Linked DNA regions of Homo sapiens: all the other regions are linked to region 3. The links are contacts of gene promoters, found by promoter capture Hi-C in blood cells and fetal thymus (Javierre and others, 2016). All regions are on one chromosome and are shown on one strand. The core of a region is centred on a gene start or on the middle of the fragment in contact, and the rest is flanking DNA. Distances in the headings are between cores, read along the strand shown.

Evidence for each region. The method cuts DNA at HindIII sites, captures the fragments that hold promoters and counts their contacts. A CHiCAGO score of 5 or more calls a contact.
Region 1: a fragment that was not itself captured here is called in contact with the fragment with the promoter of TEAD1 in region 3 in 1 of 17 cell types (endothelial precursors); the score reaches 5.1 in endothelial precursors.
Region 2: a contact is called between a fragment that was not itself captured here and the fragment with the promoter of TEAD1 in region 3, in 1 of 17 cell types (endothelial precursors). The highest score is 5.3, in endothelial precursors.
Region 4: a contact is called between a fragment that was not itself captured here and the fragment with the promoter of TEAD1 in region 3, in 1 of 17 cell types (endothelial precursors). The highest score is 7.1, in endothelial precursors.

Annotation. Positions count from the first base shown.
Region 1 is chr11:12,362,162-12,365,245 of GRCh38, forward strand. No RefSeq gene overlaps it. Among named protein-coding and RNA genes, the nearest start is that of PARVA, 14 kb to the right of the region's middle. The HindIII fragment of the contact is 2,360 bases long and covers 526-2,885 here.
Region 2 is chr11:12,291,938-12,294,798 of GRCh38, forward strand. It overlaps a transcript of MICAL2 not described here. Among named protein-coding and RNA genes, the nearest start is that of PARVA, 84 kb to the right of the region's middle. The HindIII fragment of the contact is 5,552 bases long and covers 1-2,861 here.
Region 3 is chr11:12,673,089-12,676,001 of GRCh38, forward strand. It overlaps TEAD1 (TEA domain transcription factor 1), which reads left to right and starts at 1,333. Exons shown (of 13, transcript NM_021961.6): 1 at 1,333-1,746; 2 at 2,321-2,473. RefSeq lists a silencer at 1,025-1,324 and an enhancer at 2,160-2,913. The HindIII fragment of the contact is 11,683 bases long and covers 1-2,913 here.
Region 4 is chr11:12,410,162-12,413,089 of GRCh38, forward strand. The region is part of intron 1 of PARVA (parvin alpha); the gene reads left to right. Among named protein-coding and RNA genes, the nearest start is that of PARVA, 34 kb to the left of the region's middle. The HindIII fragment of the contact is 1,044 bases long and covers 974-2,017 here.

The DNA of each region.
Region 1 (3,084 bases), core at 456-2,955, 310 kb before region 3:
TGGCACCTCTGAGGGCAGCATCCATTTCATTTATTTGTTCTCAGTGAAAGAGCCTGGGCAAGGCTTTGATTTTGTGTGGGAGTCTGTTAATTAACCTGGGAGATTTTATTACCATGGGGCATCTAGAAGGACTTACCTGACCAGCAAATTGGATTTGAATGGGAGGAGAAGCGAAGAAGGCTCACCTCAGGTGTATTCCTTCAACAAAGAAAGCTGTTTTCAAGGCTGGGGAAGGGGAGGGATGAGGCTTATGGTAGTCCCAGCCCCTCCCTTTCTCTCACCTTTCTCTCACCTGGTTTTGTATTTAATTCGCTCAACAGGAACGTTTCCTTCTGCGCAGATCTAGCCTCTTCCTTCAAGTCACATTCTTTTAGTTTGTTCTTATTACCTCTTTTCTTAACCCCAGCACATGCATATTCTTAAACTATGAGTGCAGGGTACACCAGAATTGCCACATCACAGTAATCAACCCATGAGTCCCAGGAGCTCCCATCATTCCACACGAAGGTGCCCCATTTGTTTGAAAGCTTTTGTCTGCTGATCAAATATTTGAAAGGATTTATTTTTCCATTGAGCATCAACAACAAATATACATAACTGCAGATGAGAGCTCCTGTTTTACCAGCACTAATGTGGGGAGTGAAGAGCTCCAAGCAACAGCCACCTCTGATGGCACTTTGCAAGTTTTTCCTTGGGGCTCAGCTGACATCCTCATACTCACAGAGCTGCAGACTCTCAGCCATTGCTGCAACTCACCGTCTCTGAGCCTTCAGGGCACACTTTCTAATTTCATGCTCACTCCCTCTCCCAGTTCACTTAGAAATAAAAGAAAGCAAAACCAAACATCACAGCACCCTTCCCCCAGCCCCTCTGACCCTGATAATGGTAACAGCTACTGTGAACTCAGCTCTTCTCACCTACCAGGTGAACTAGGCCAGGAAACTCACTCCCCAGAACTCTGTCACCTCTCTGATTTCATCTGACTCACTAGAGTGCTCGTGGAATCTCTTTGGGGACCATCTCTTTGGACTGCCCTCTGCTGACCAGATGTCCAGCCCCTTGCACAGCTCTTTGGCCAATACTCCTTCAAGTATACCCTTTAGTGTTTCCAGCAGACAACATCTGGCCTTGGTGATTTGGTTCCATTTCATTGTTAGACATAATACTTCTAACCTTCCTCCCTAAGAGGAAACATCCAACGTATGAATAGCTATAATATCTCCCCCCAAGAAAGATGGAAGCGGGGTCTCTCACTCCTCCAGATCACACTGACCTAGGAAAGAATTGGGGAGAGGAAAATCAAGACCATGGGTATAATCTCAGTGGCCTGGGACATGGACCACACACCAGTACAATCACTGGGGCCCCAGGTATTCCCCCTTGCCTGGCTGAGTCTGCATTGGCTCACACCTGCTGCTTTCTGCCCTTAAAAGCATTGCTGTGCTCTTGTTTACCTGTGTGTTATTCATTCCTCTGTTTGATTACCCAAGGAGGAACTACTGATTTTAGGGCTTCACTTCTGCAGCTGGCCCTCAGCTATCATGCTGAGGTGAGAAAATCTCTCCACCACTGTCTGTAGTTCATTATTACCCCTGAAGGGTAGGTGAGCAGGTCATCTGTCTCAAAGAACTTTGGACTCATTCCCCCATGGCTGAATCAGAGGCGATTTGAGTGGCATCATCCTGTGTGGTCCTCAAAAACAGCCCTGCCCTCAGTCTACCATGTTACCAACTAAGGCTGAGGTTGTCCAACTTCCTCCTGTCCTGTGACTTCCCTGCCCACCAAGAGAATTCCTATTCTCCCACTCCATCCCTGCCACCTGGACAGCCTTCACCCAGACAGGTAGAATTCCTGGAGGACATGCTCACCGGCAGGCTGACCTTCAAAGGCCACCACTAATATTCCAGAGTTCCCAAGGGGGACATGCAATGAGGCTTGTCCCTTAAGACCCCCACTCCACAGACATTTCATTTCTCACGCATTCCTTTCATCCTAAGAGCACATCTTGCTTGCAGTGATCAAAGAGATCCTCAAGAGGCTCTGGCTGGCTTCTCTCTTCCCCCTCCTGCTTTGCTGCAGTCAAATAACTCTGACTATTGGTTGGGATCCAGAGCTTTTGTAAAACCCTCATCTTGATCTGCAGGGGATGCCATTTTGTCCCTTAGATGGTATGTGGTTCATGTCCCAGGCCACTGAGATGACACCAAGTTCTTGATTTTCCTCTCCCCAATGCTTTCCGAGGTCAGTGTGATCTGGAAGAGTGAGAGTCTCCTAGGGCTGCTGTTACAAAGTACAGCAGGTTTAAAACAGCAGAAATTTATTATCTCCCAGTCCTGGAGGCTAGAAATCCAAAGTTAAGGTGTCTGCTGAGCCATGTTCCCTCTGAGACTCTAGGGGAGGATTCTTTGTCGCCTCCTCCACCTTCTGGAAGTCCCAGGCATCCCTTGGCATGTGGCTGCATCACTCCAATGGCCATCTTCTTCCTGTATCTTTGCATCACATTCCCTCTGTGCATATCTGTGTCCAAATTTTCTTCTTCCCATAAAGATACAAGTCTCATTGGATTAGGTGCCCACCATATTCCAGTATGACCTAAATACAATTTTTAGCAACTAATTACATTGGCAATGACCCTACTTCCAGGATCCCATTCTGAAGTACTGGGTGTTACACCTTCAACGTATCTTTTTTAGGGGACAAAATTCAACCCATAACAGATGGCCTTCACATTTAGGAAGAATATCTTTTCCTAGTGAAAGCCACTTTGGGCTTGAATTTTGCCTTAATTTGCTTTGATATGATTGGTTTACCTCTATCCTGGGTTTTTAAGCTATTCAATAAAAAGCAACCCAGTAAAATAAATAGATAACAGAATACAAAAGAAAAGCTTCCTTCTATATGACAGATACAGATCACATGTAATTTATGAAATCTGAATGGAGCACCTAGACTCCAATTTTCGTTCCATTATCTTGGTACTTATAGTTACTATTTTATTATTCCTTTAATGGTTACCCTAGAGATTACAACATGATCCTTGATTTATCAGAGTCCAATAGAACTTGCTACTTTTACTTCTTCCCA
Region 2 (2,861 bases), core at 302-2,801, 380 kb before region 3:
GGACTTCCTTTGCCCCACGGGACCCTGCCACTGCTCTACCCATTCCTCTGAGTCCCACGCCTTGGGCACCAGGAACCTCTGAGTCAGGCTCTGACATCTTCCTCTTTCTGACTGTTTATAGAATTGGAGCTTCACTTAAAGCCTCCTCTTTTCTTGATAAAATAATAACACCTTTGTAATGAAGAGTGTGTTCTTTCCTTGGTAGGTTTGACGCCAGTGAACAAAAGAACTATGTCACCTCCTAAGGACCCTTCTCCTTCTCTTCCTCTTCCTTCATCGTCTTCCCATTCATCTTCCCCACCATCTTCTTCTTCAACCAGTGTTTCTGGGAATGCTCCAGATGGTTCCTCCCCGCCTCAGGTGAGTGTCCCTGAGGGTCCTGCCCAGGTGTCAGGAAGCTAACCTACCTGTACTCTTCCCACCTTCCACACTTATCTCTGGATTCCACGTGCTCATAGGTCAACCTAAGTGCAAAGCCAGCGCCAGAAGATACTCTGTCAAGGGTCTACCCCAGCTGCCTTCATGTATACCTTTCACAAAAGCTCCTGCTGTTCCTTCACAGCCATCCCTGAGGACACAGTCATTCCCTCAGCAAACTTTACAGGGTTTAGACTCCATGCCAGGTCTCCATGAGATACAGAGCTGCTAGGACACCTTTCCCTTGAGAACTTGCAAAGGGCATTGAGGAATTTGCAGCTGTAGGATGGCAGGCACAGAAGTGAGGGTCCCTTTGGTAGGGTCCAAGAACCTTGGAAGCAACATCTCCCTTGAATATAAAATGTCATCATTGGTATGCAGGCTGGACTCTTTCCTTCTGTATGTATTTATCAAGCCTCTGTTACCTGCCAGGCCTGTTCTAGACTCTGGAAAGTAGAATGCACAAGACAGAAAAGATGGGTGCTCTGGTGAAGCCCCTGTGCTATGACCTGCCCTTCAGGCACCAGAGGTCTTGGGAGGGCACAGCCACCCCTAGAGTCCACTCATGTTCCCTCTTTGCCAAGGGCCAAGTTCCTGCATGCTAGAAATAGCTCCTTTCTCAGTGGTGCAATGTGGGAGGTTAAAAAGGGTCATTGAAAGGTCTTAAGGGCCATCCTTGTGCCACCACAGCTTCAGCCCAGAGAGTGACTGTCGCTTCTTACTTTGATGGCCTCCAAGGAAGAAGCCTTGGTTTCTTGGTTGTTGGAGGAACATACCTATGGGTGGATCATGCCTTTTAGTACAGACAATGGCTGAGCAAGAAAATGAAGAGCTTATCTTCCCCTATGTGCCTGGCCACCCACAGAGGCCCAGCCAGTCCTACCATCATGGGCCCGGGAGCTTATCAACAGCAGTGTCCTACCTTTGCCTTCCCCCTGGCTTCCAACCCAGCTAATCTGGGATTCAGAAAAGCCTTTCGTCAGTACTGATTCGGGGGTTCCAGGCAGATCCTGGCAGGACCCAAGGCAGCTACTTAGAACAAAGAGTATCCCTTTAAAATCATCTTAGGCAAAATTATTTTTTAATTTGGGCATCTGAGATGGGAAGAAAAAACAGGGAGGGGGTTGTAGATTGAGATTTGCTTTCATCATATAAATAAATGATGAAAATTTTTAAATAACTGCTATTTTTGCCCATCCCATCTAGATGACAGCTTCTGAGCCCCTCTCGCAAGTCTCGAGAGGTCATCCAAGTCCTCCCACCCCAAACTTTCGGAGGCGAGCCGTAGCCCAAGGAGCACCCAGGGAAATTCCCCTGTATCTGCCTCATCACCCAAAGCCAGAGTGGGCAGAGTACTGCCTGGTGAGCCCTGGTGAAGATGGCCTCTCAGACCCTGCAGAGATGACTTCTGATGAGTGCCAGCCAGCAGAGGCCCCTCTTGGGGACATCGGAAGCAACCACAGAGACCCACACCCCATCTGGGGGAAGGACAGGAGCTGGACAGGGCAAGAGCTATCTCCCTTGGCTGGAGAAGACCGGGAAAAAGGGAGTACTGGAGCCAGGAAGGAAGAAGAGGGAGGGCCAGTGCTGGTAAAGGAGAAGTTGGGCCTGAAGAAGTTAGTCCTCACTCAGGAGCAGAAGACCATGTTGTTGGATTGGAATGACTCCATCCCTGAGAGTGTGCACCTCAAAGCTGGGGAGCGAATTTCCCAGAAAAGTGCTGAGAATGGTAGAGGAGGCCGTGTGCTAAAACCAGTCCGCCCCCTGCTGCTCCCTAGGGCAGCAGGAGAGCCCCTGCCAACCCAGAGAGGGGCCCAGGAGAAGATGGGGACCCCTGCGGAACAAGCTCAAGGGGAGCGAAACGTGCCTCCACCCAAGTCCCCACTGCGGCTCATAGCCAATGCCATCCGAAGGTCTCTAGAGCCCCTCCTTTCCAACTCTGAAGGCGGGAAGAAGGCCTGGGCCAAGCAAGAATCCAAAACTTTGCCCGCACAGGCCTGCACTCGCTCATTCAGCCTTCGGAAAACCAATTCCAATAAAGACGGGGACCAGCATTCCCCTGGGAGAAACCAGTCCTCAGCCTTTAGCCCTCCTGACCCTGCCCTCCGCACCCACAGTTTGCCCAATCGGCCATCCAAGGTCTTTCCTGCACTTAGGTCCCCACCCTGCAGCAAGATTGAAGATGTCCCCACACTCCTCGAGAAAGTGAGTTTGCAAGAGAACTTCCCAGATGCTTCTAAGCCTCCAAAGAAAAGAATCTCACTTTTTTCCTCCCTCAGACTCAAAGACAAATCTTTTGAGAGTTTCCTCCAAGAATCCAGACAAAGAAAGGACATCAGGGACCTCTTTGGCAGCCCCAAGAGGAAGGTGCTGCCTGAAGATAGTGCGCAGGCCCTGGAGAAGCTGCTGCAGCCTTTCAAAAGCACCTCCCTGCGCCAGGCAGC
Region 3 (2,913 bases), core at 83-2,582:
GGATGGCTTGATTCCAGGGAGTCGAGGCTGCAGCGAGCCCAGATCGCACCATTGCATTCTAGCCTAGGTGACAGAGCAAGATCCTGTCTCCAAAAATAAAATAAAAAAAAAATTAAAAAAAAGGAAAACAATGTATTAGTAAAAGTTATGTTTTGTAGAAATGTGTTGCACTCAGTCACAGTCTAGTCTCCTCAGTTACCCATATATAGGGATATAGGGATTCCTCGGGCACAAAATATGTTGTTATTTAATCCTGAGGCCTCAGCTGGAAAAGAGAGCCAAGTGCCTAGAACGAATGAGGTCCACTGTGCGGGAACTGCTTTGCAGTTTGTTAAATAATTATAACAATCACCCGAAACTTTAGACGGTTCTGTCCCCAGTGGGTCGATTTTACCCGTTTTCTGATTTACCGACTGCGTCTATGTCACTTTTGCGTCACTACCTCCAATGGCAGGGTTAAAATGATTCCTTTAATAATGAAATGAAGTTTCTCAATAATGAAAGGGCTAACTTAAAGTCGCCGGATGCAGCATTTCAAAGTTTAGGAAGTTACTTTTGAAAAGTACAACCGGCAGAGATGAGTGAACTTAGTTTTTTAACTGACTTGGAGAAGACCTTGCTAGCAGGGCAGGTTTATTACGAACTCTGTAATTATCCTTCTTTGCTAAGCTAAAGGTTTTCCTTTCCCAACCGTAAGACAGATTTCGACTTGAGTGAGAGCTGTGAACTTTTATAAAAGTGAAAGGGAAGAGAAGAAATGGCAGGCTGGGAATCTGGCCCGGAGACGGCGTCCACCGCGCTCGAGAGCAACAATCTGCATCACCAGAAAGGCAACTTCTCTACCCTACACTTGCAGACTTCCGCGAGTCCGGGAGCACTCAACGCAGTCACCCGCGCTTCCGCGTCCCGGACTAGGGAAACTGAGGCACGGTAGGCGCGTCGCGCGCAACTCCCGCCTCGGCGCCTGCCCCCTGGAAGAAACCCAGGCTTCCAGAGTTCTTCGCGCGAGCGCAGGGACTTCCAAGCCGCGCAGCTCCCGTCCGCCCCGCCCCGCCCCGCCCCGGCTCGGGACAAAGCCCGGAGCCCGCGCCGGGAGACGGAGGGCGGCTCCCGCGCGAGCCACGCTCCCCCGTGGGCGCGAGACTCCGCCCAGCTGCCGAAAGCCCGCGCCCCAACGGCGAAGCAGCCGCGCCGGTCCGCCCCGATTCCCCATGACGTCACCGGCGGCGGCAGGCCCCGCCTCCAGCCCCGGGCGGCAGGCCGCATGACGTCACCGAGGCCCCACCCCTCCGGAGCGAGTTCGGTCCTGGCGTTCATTTCATTCCTGTCCTCATTCCGAACATTCTTAGCATCGCTCGCGCCGCGCCGCGCCGCCTGAGCCGAGCCGAGCCTCTGCTGCCGCCGCCGCGGCCCCGCCGCCCGCCGCGGGCGCCCACCAAGCACTTTGCAGACTCGCTTCCACCCTGCGGGCCATTCCGCGCGGCGGGGCCCGGGCCCGGGGCGGCCGCGTCCAGGCACAGGCCATGCAGTGACGCCCCCCCACCCCTCCACCTTTGCCCGGAGCGCGGGCAGCAGCCCAGCGCGCCAGCCGGCCCCGGGGCAGGAGCGGTGCTAGGCAGGGGTGGGGTGGCCGGGCCCAGGGACCGGGAGCCGGGGAGGGAGCCGGGCACCGAGCAGAGGGCGGGGGAAGCGGCGCCGAAGTTTGCCTCGGACTCGCCGGGCGCTGCGGTGGCTCCCTGGGCCGAGGTAAGTTGGCGCGCGGGGCGGATGCTGGGGTGCGGGGGGCGCACGGGGCAGCGGGGGGCCGGCGGCGCGTCCCTCGCGGGCCGCTCTTTCTTTGCGGGCTCTGCTTTGTGTGCGACGGCGGGCGGGCACGCGGAGGGCCGCGGCCGGGCCCCCACACCCGCCTCCCCGCGCCCCCTCCGAGGTGAGCGGCCGGGCGCCGCCGCGCGACTTGCCAGGACGCCAAGTTGGGCCGCGCGCTGGGAGCCCGCGCGGCAACAGGCGGCCCCCGGCCGGCCGCGCCGCGCCCCCCGCGCGCCCCCTCTCCCGCCGCCTGCACGCGCACACACGCACACACCCTCGGGCGCCTTGGACGGGGTGCGCTGGGGAGCCAGAAGTTCGGAGCGAGCGCGGGCGGGCAGAGCCGCCGCCTCGGAGCCCGGAGCCGGCCTGCACCCCCCTGCTTTCGCCGCCGCCCCCCGGCGCCGGGTACCCCCGAGGCCGGCCCGGGTCTGCGCAGACTTGTGCCGCTGGCGGGGGGTTCGCTCCTTCTTCTCAAAGATGAAAAAGGGCACGGTCGTCTTTGCCGCTTCTCCAGGACTGTTGCTGCCGCTGCCGCCGCCGCTTCATTGCACATTCAAGTGGAAAATTTTCAGGAGTCAGCAGAAACATTGTGTCCAAAAAAGACTGAGTCGCAGTTACCACCAAACCCAGGAGGAGACTCTCCCTGGAAAACTTCCCTTCCCTTTCGGTAGGAAATACTGGGGGATTTGTTTGTTGATTGGAAGAGAAATGATCCCCGGGGGGGAGAAAATCTGGGTACACTTCTAGTCTTTGTTCGTAACAGCAACACTTGTTTTCAAAAGTCCAGAGTCCCGCTTTAAAGAAAGTTTAACTTCTGTGACTTTTCTTCTTTTTAAAAAAATAACTTTTGTATTTTTAAAAAATCAAAGCAATATTTTTAATGAGTCGAAAACAATGAGGACTCACACCTCCCCTCTCATGAAAATAAATGAAATCCAGATCAGAATTTTCTTTGCTTTTAAATTGCCTTTTTTAAAAGATTTATTTAAAGTTGGATAGTGTCACTATATAAAAATATTTATGAAACAATGAAATACCAGCCACCAGCGTTTCTCAGGAGGCTTGTTAACTTCTTAGAAGCAAGTGGCTTCCTGTGATTTGCAGAAA
Region 4 (2,928 bases), core at 246-2,745, 260 kb before region 3:
CTCAGCCCTAGGCATCTCCGGGCTGGGCCACCCAGGCCCCCGGGACTGCAGGGCAGGGATCAGGTTTGCCTTGTGCTGGCCTGGGCTCTGCTTGAAGTCCTATCTGCCCTTTCCTCATCTTCAGGGCTCAGCCCACAGGCCTCCTCCAGGAACACCCCTGCCTACCCCAGGCCACAGGAAGCATTCCCTCCAAGGTCTGCCTTTCCCCCCGGCAGGGACTCCGGGCCAGCTGCTCCATCTCTTGGGCTGCGGTTATTTTCTCTTTACTGTCGGCTCCTGTCTGTGGAGACAGGCCTGTGCCAGGCATACATTCAGGGGCTCAGCAATGCCTGTGGTTTGATTGGTTGGGTCTAGATCCGAAGGATTGCTATACGAGGGCTTTTGCTTTATCCTTTTAGGGAAGTTCATTCTCTCTCGTTGCTTCTCCTCCTCCTTTTGGAGACATCACTAGAAAATCTCAGCAGCAGGAGCCCAGTGCCTACGCCAGCCCATCTTTCACACTGTAGCTGCCAGAATGTTCATTCCCAAACCAAACTCTGACCTAGTTCCTCCTCCAGTGGAAAACTACTGAGGATCCCTTCTTCTCCCCACCCCATCTATAGCTATGGCTTTCAGTGTTAAAAAGAAAGAAATAAATGAAAGTTATGTGGACCCTTCTTTTTCAATAAAGTATCGCATGGAATGTTCATCATTAAGCATCTGGACTCTGGCATCAGACAGACCTGGGTCCAAATGCAGGCTCTGCCACTTACCTGTATAACCTCAGGCAAGCTGTCTAACCTCGCCGTACCTCACTTTTCTCAGCTGTAAAATGGGGGTGTGATACTGACGATCCCTAGTTCATGAGGCTGTTGTGGAGATCAAGTATGGTACTTAGCAGAGTACCTGGCCTGGTATAGCTACCAAATAAATGTTAGCTAATGTTACTAGAGCACAAGTTAATTTTCTAAGTTCTAACTTATAACAGTTATAAAGCTTATCAGTGACAATAATTTGGCTGTTTGGATGAACAAAGGATTTTTAAAAACAGATTTCACTTTTTATTAGGTTGCTGCAAAGGTAATTGCGATCTTTGCCATCTTAATGGTAAAAACCACAATTACCTTTGCACCAACCTAATAGAACAGTTTTAGATTTACAAGAAATTGTGGGATAGTGCAGAGAGTTCCCATAGGCCCTGTACCCAGTTCCCCTATTGCCAACATTGTACATTGGTATGGTACATTTATTATAATTAATGAACCAATGTTAATACATAATCATCAACTAAAGTTCATACTTTATTCAAAACTCCTTAGTTTTTCCCTAATAGATTTCTTTTTCTGTTCCAGGGTTCCACCAGGGAAGGTACCATAGTACATTAGGTTGTCACGCCTCCCTAGGTTCCTCTTGGCTATAATAGCTTTTTTACTTTCCTTGTTTTTGATGGCCTCGGCACTTTTTAGGAGTACTGGTCAGGTGTTTTGTAGGATGCCCCTCTACTAGAATTTATCTGATATTCTTCTCATGGTTAGACGGAATTGAACACAGAAATGTAAAGTTAGCAGATTATGGATGACCACTCCAGTTTTCCCTTGGTCTCAGCATCCATGAAATTAGAATCAGATGTTTATGGGGAGTCTAAAAACATGGTTTGAAAAATCACTGGAGAAGATCAAGTCTACACTCCCTGGTGTGACCTACGAGGTCTTCTCACTCCAAGCCCTGCCCACATCACCAGCCTGCTTTATCACTCCTTCCTGCTGCAGGCACCCCCAGCTTCTCAGCATTCCCCTAATAGGTCCGGGCATTGAGGCATATCGACTCATCCCCCAGGAATGCCTTCCCTCCTTTCTCTGCCTGCCTAGTTTCTTTCTAATCTCTATGCAAAGACTCTAAGATCCAGTTTAACTTATCCTTCCTCCCTGATGCAATTCCCACTTTCCTTACAGAGACTGACACTGTCCCTAGGGTTCCCTGGGCACATCTCTCTATTGTCTTTCTCAGCTCTCATGTCTGCCTCTTCCTGTACACTGGAAGCTTCTTAAGAGCAGGAGCTGAGTCATAATCCTCTATTCCTCATGTCCAGCGTGAGCCTGGCACACAGTAGGTGCTTAAGAGATGCTTAATGAATGACTCTTGATGTTAGAGAAAGGTGCCATTTCTATACCATCTTTAACACAGAGCATGTTGCCTTCATCCTAAGAAAATGGGGTGCCCCAGTGGATGATGGATACCAGAGATTAACCCTTGGGTGGGTCTTTTAAGGCCGTTTTCTCCCTGCCCCAGAGGGTGTGGGAATGAGGTGTGAGTATGGAAAGGACCACCAGGGGGCTCCGGGATGCAGTTCACCAGCCCAGGCCGAGAGGAAGGCTCAGTGGTGGCTTCAGCAGCAAGCCTGGGTCTGGCAGAATCCTCAAAGAAAGTGTGTCAAAAGAGAGGTCTGTTTTGCTACTGATGTGCCAGGCTCTGTAGCAAGGACAGGATGTACCAGCCTGTTCTTTAAACATGTGTGGGCCCCTCACTGTCCTTTGCCCCAGAGGTCCCAGCCTACAGAGAAAGGGACAAAAGATCCTGAGAGCCAAGAAAATAATATTTGCAGGAAAAATGGTCTTGTTATATGCGCAAGCAGACCTTTACTTCATTCAGACTTCCTAATTTCCCTTTCCACGCCAGTGTTAATAGTTCTCCTTGGATCGCAAACTCTTAATAGATATTCCTAAGGCCAAAAGTATCACTGAGAAGTTGGAGCCAAAATCTCAGGGCTTTTCTTTTGAATTCTATAAGAAGAGGGGAAAACAGCTGAGTTAATCTGAAATAATGAAGCTGGAATTAGAAATTGCTCTGGTCAGTAACATCCACTGTTTTGTTTTTTTGTTGTGTTATTAAGAGTAATAATAACAATAGCTCTTGTGCATTGGGTGCCAACTCTGTGCCAGGCATTGGGAT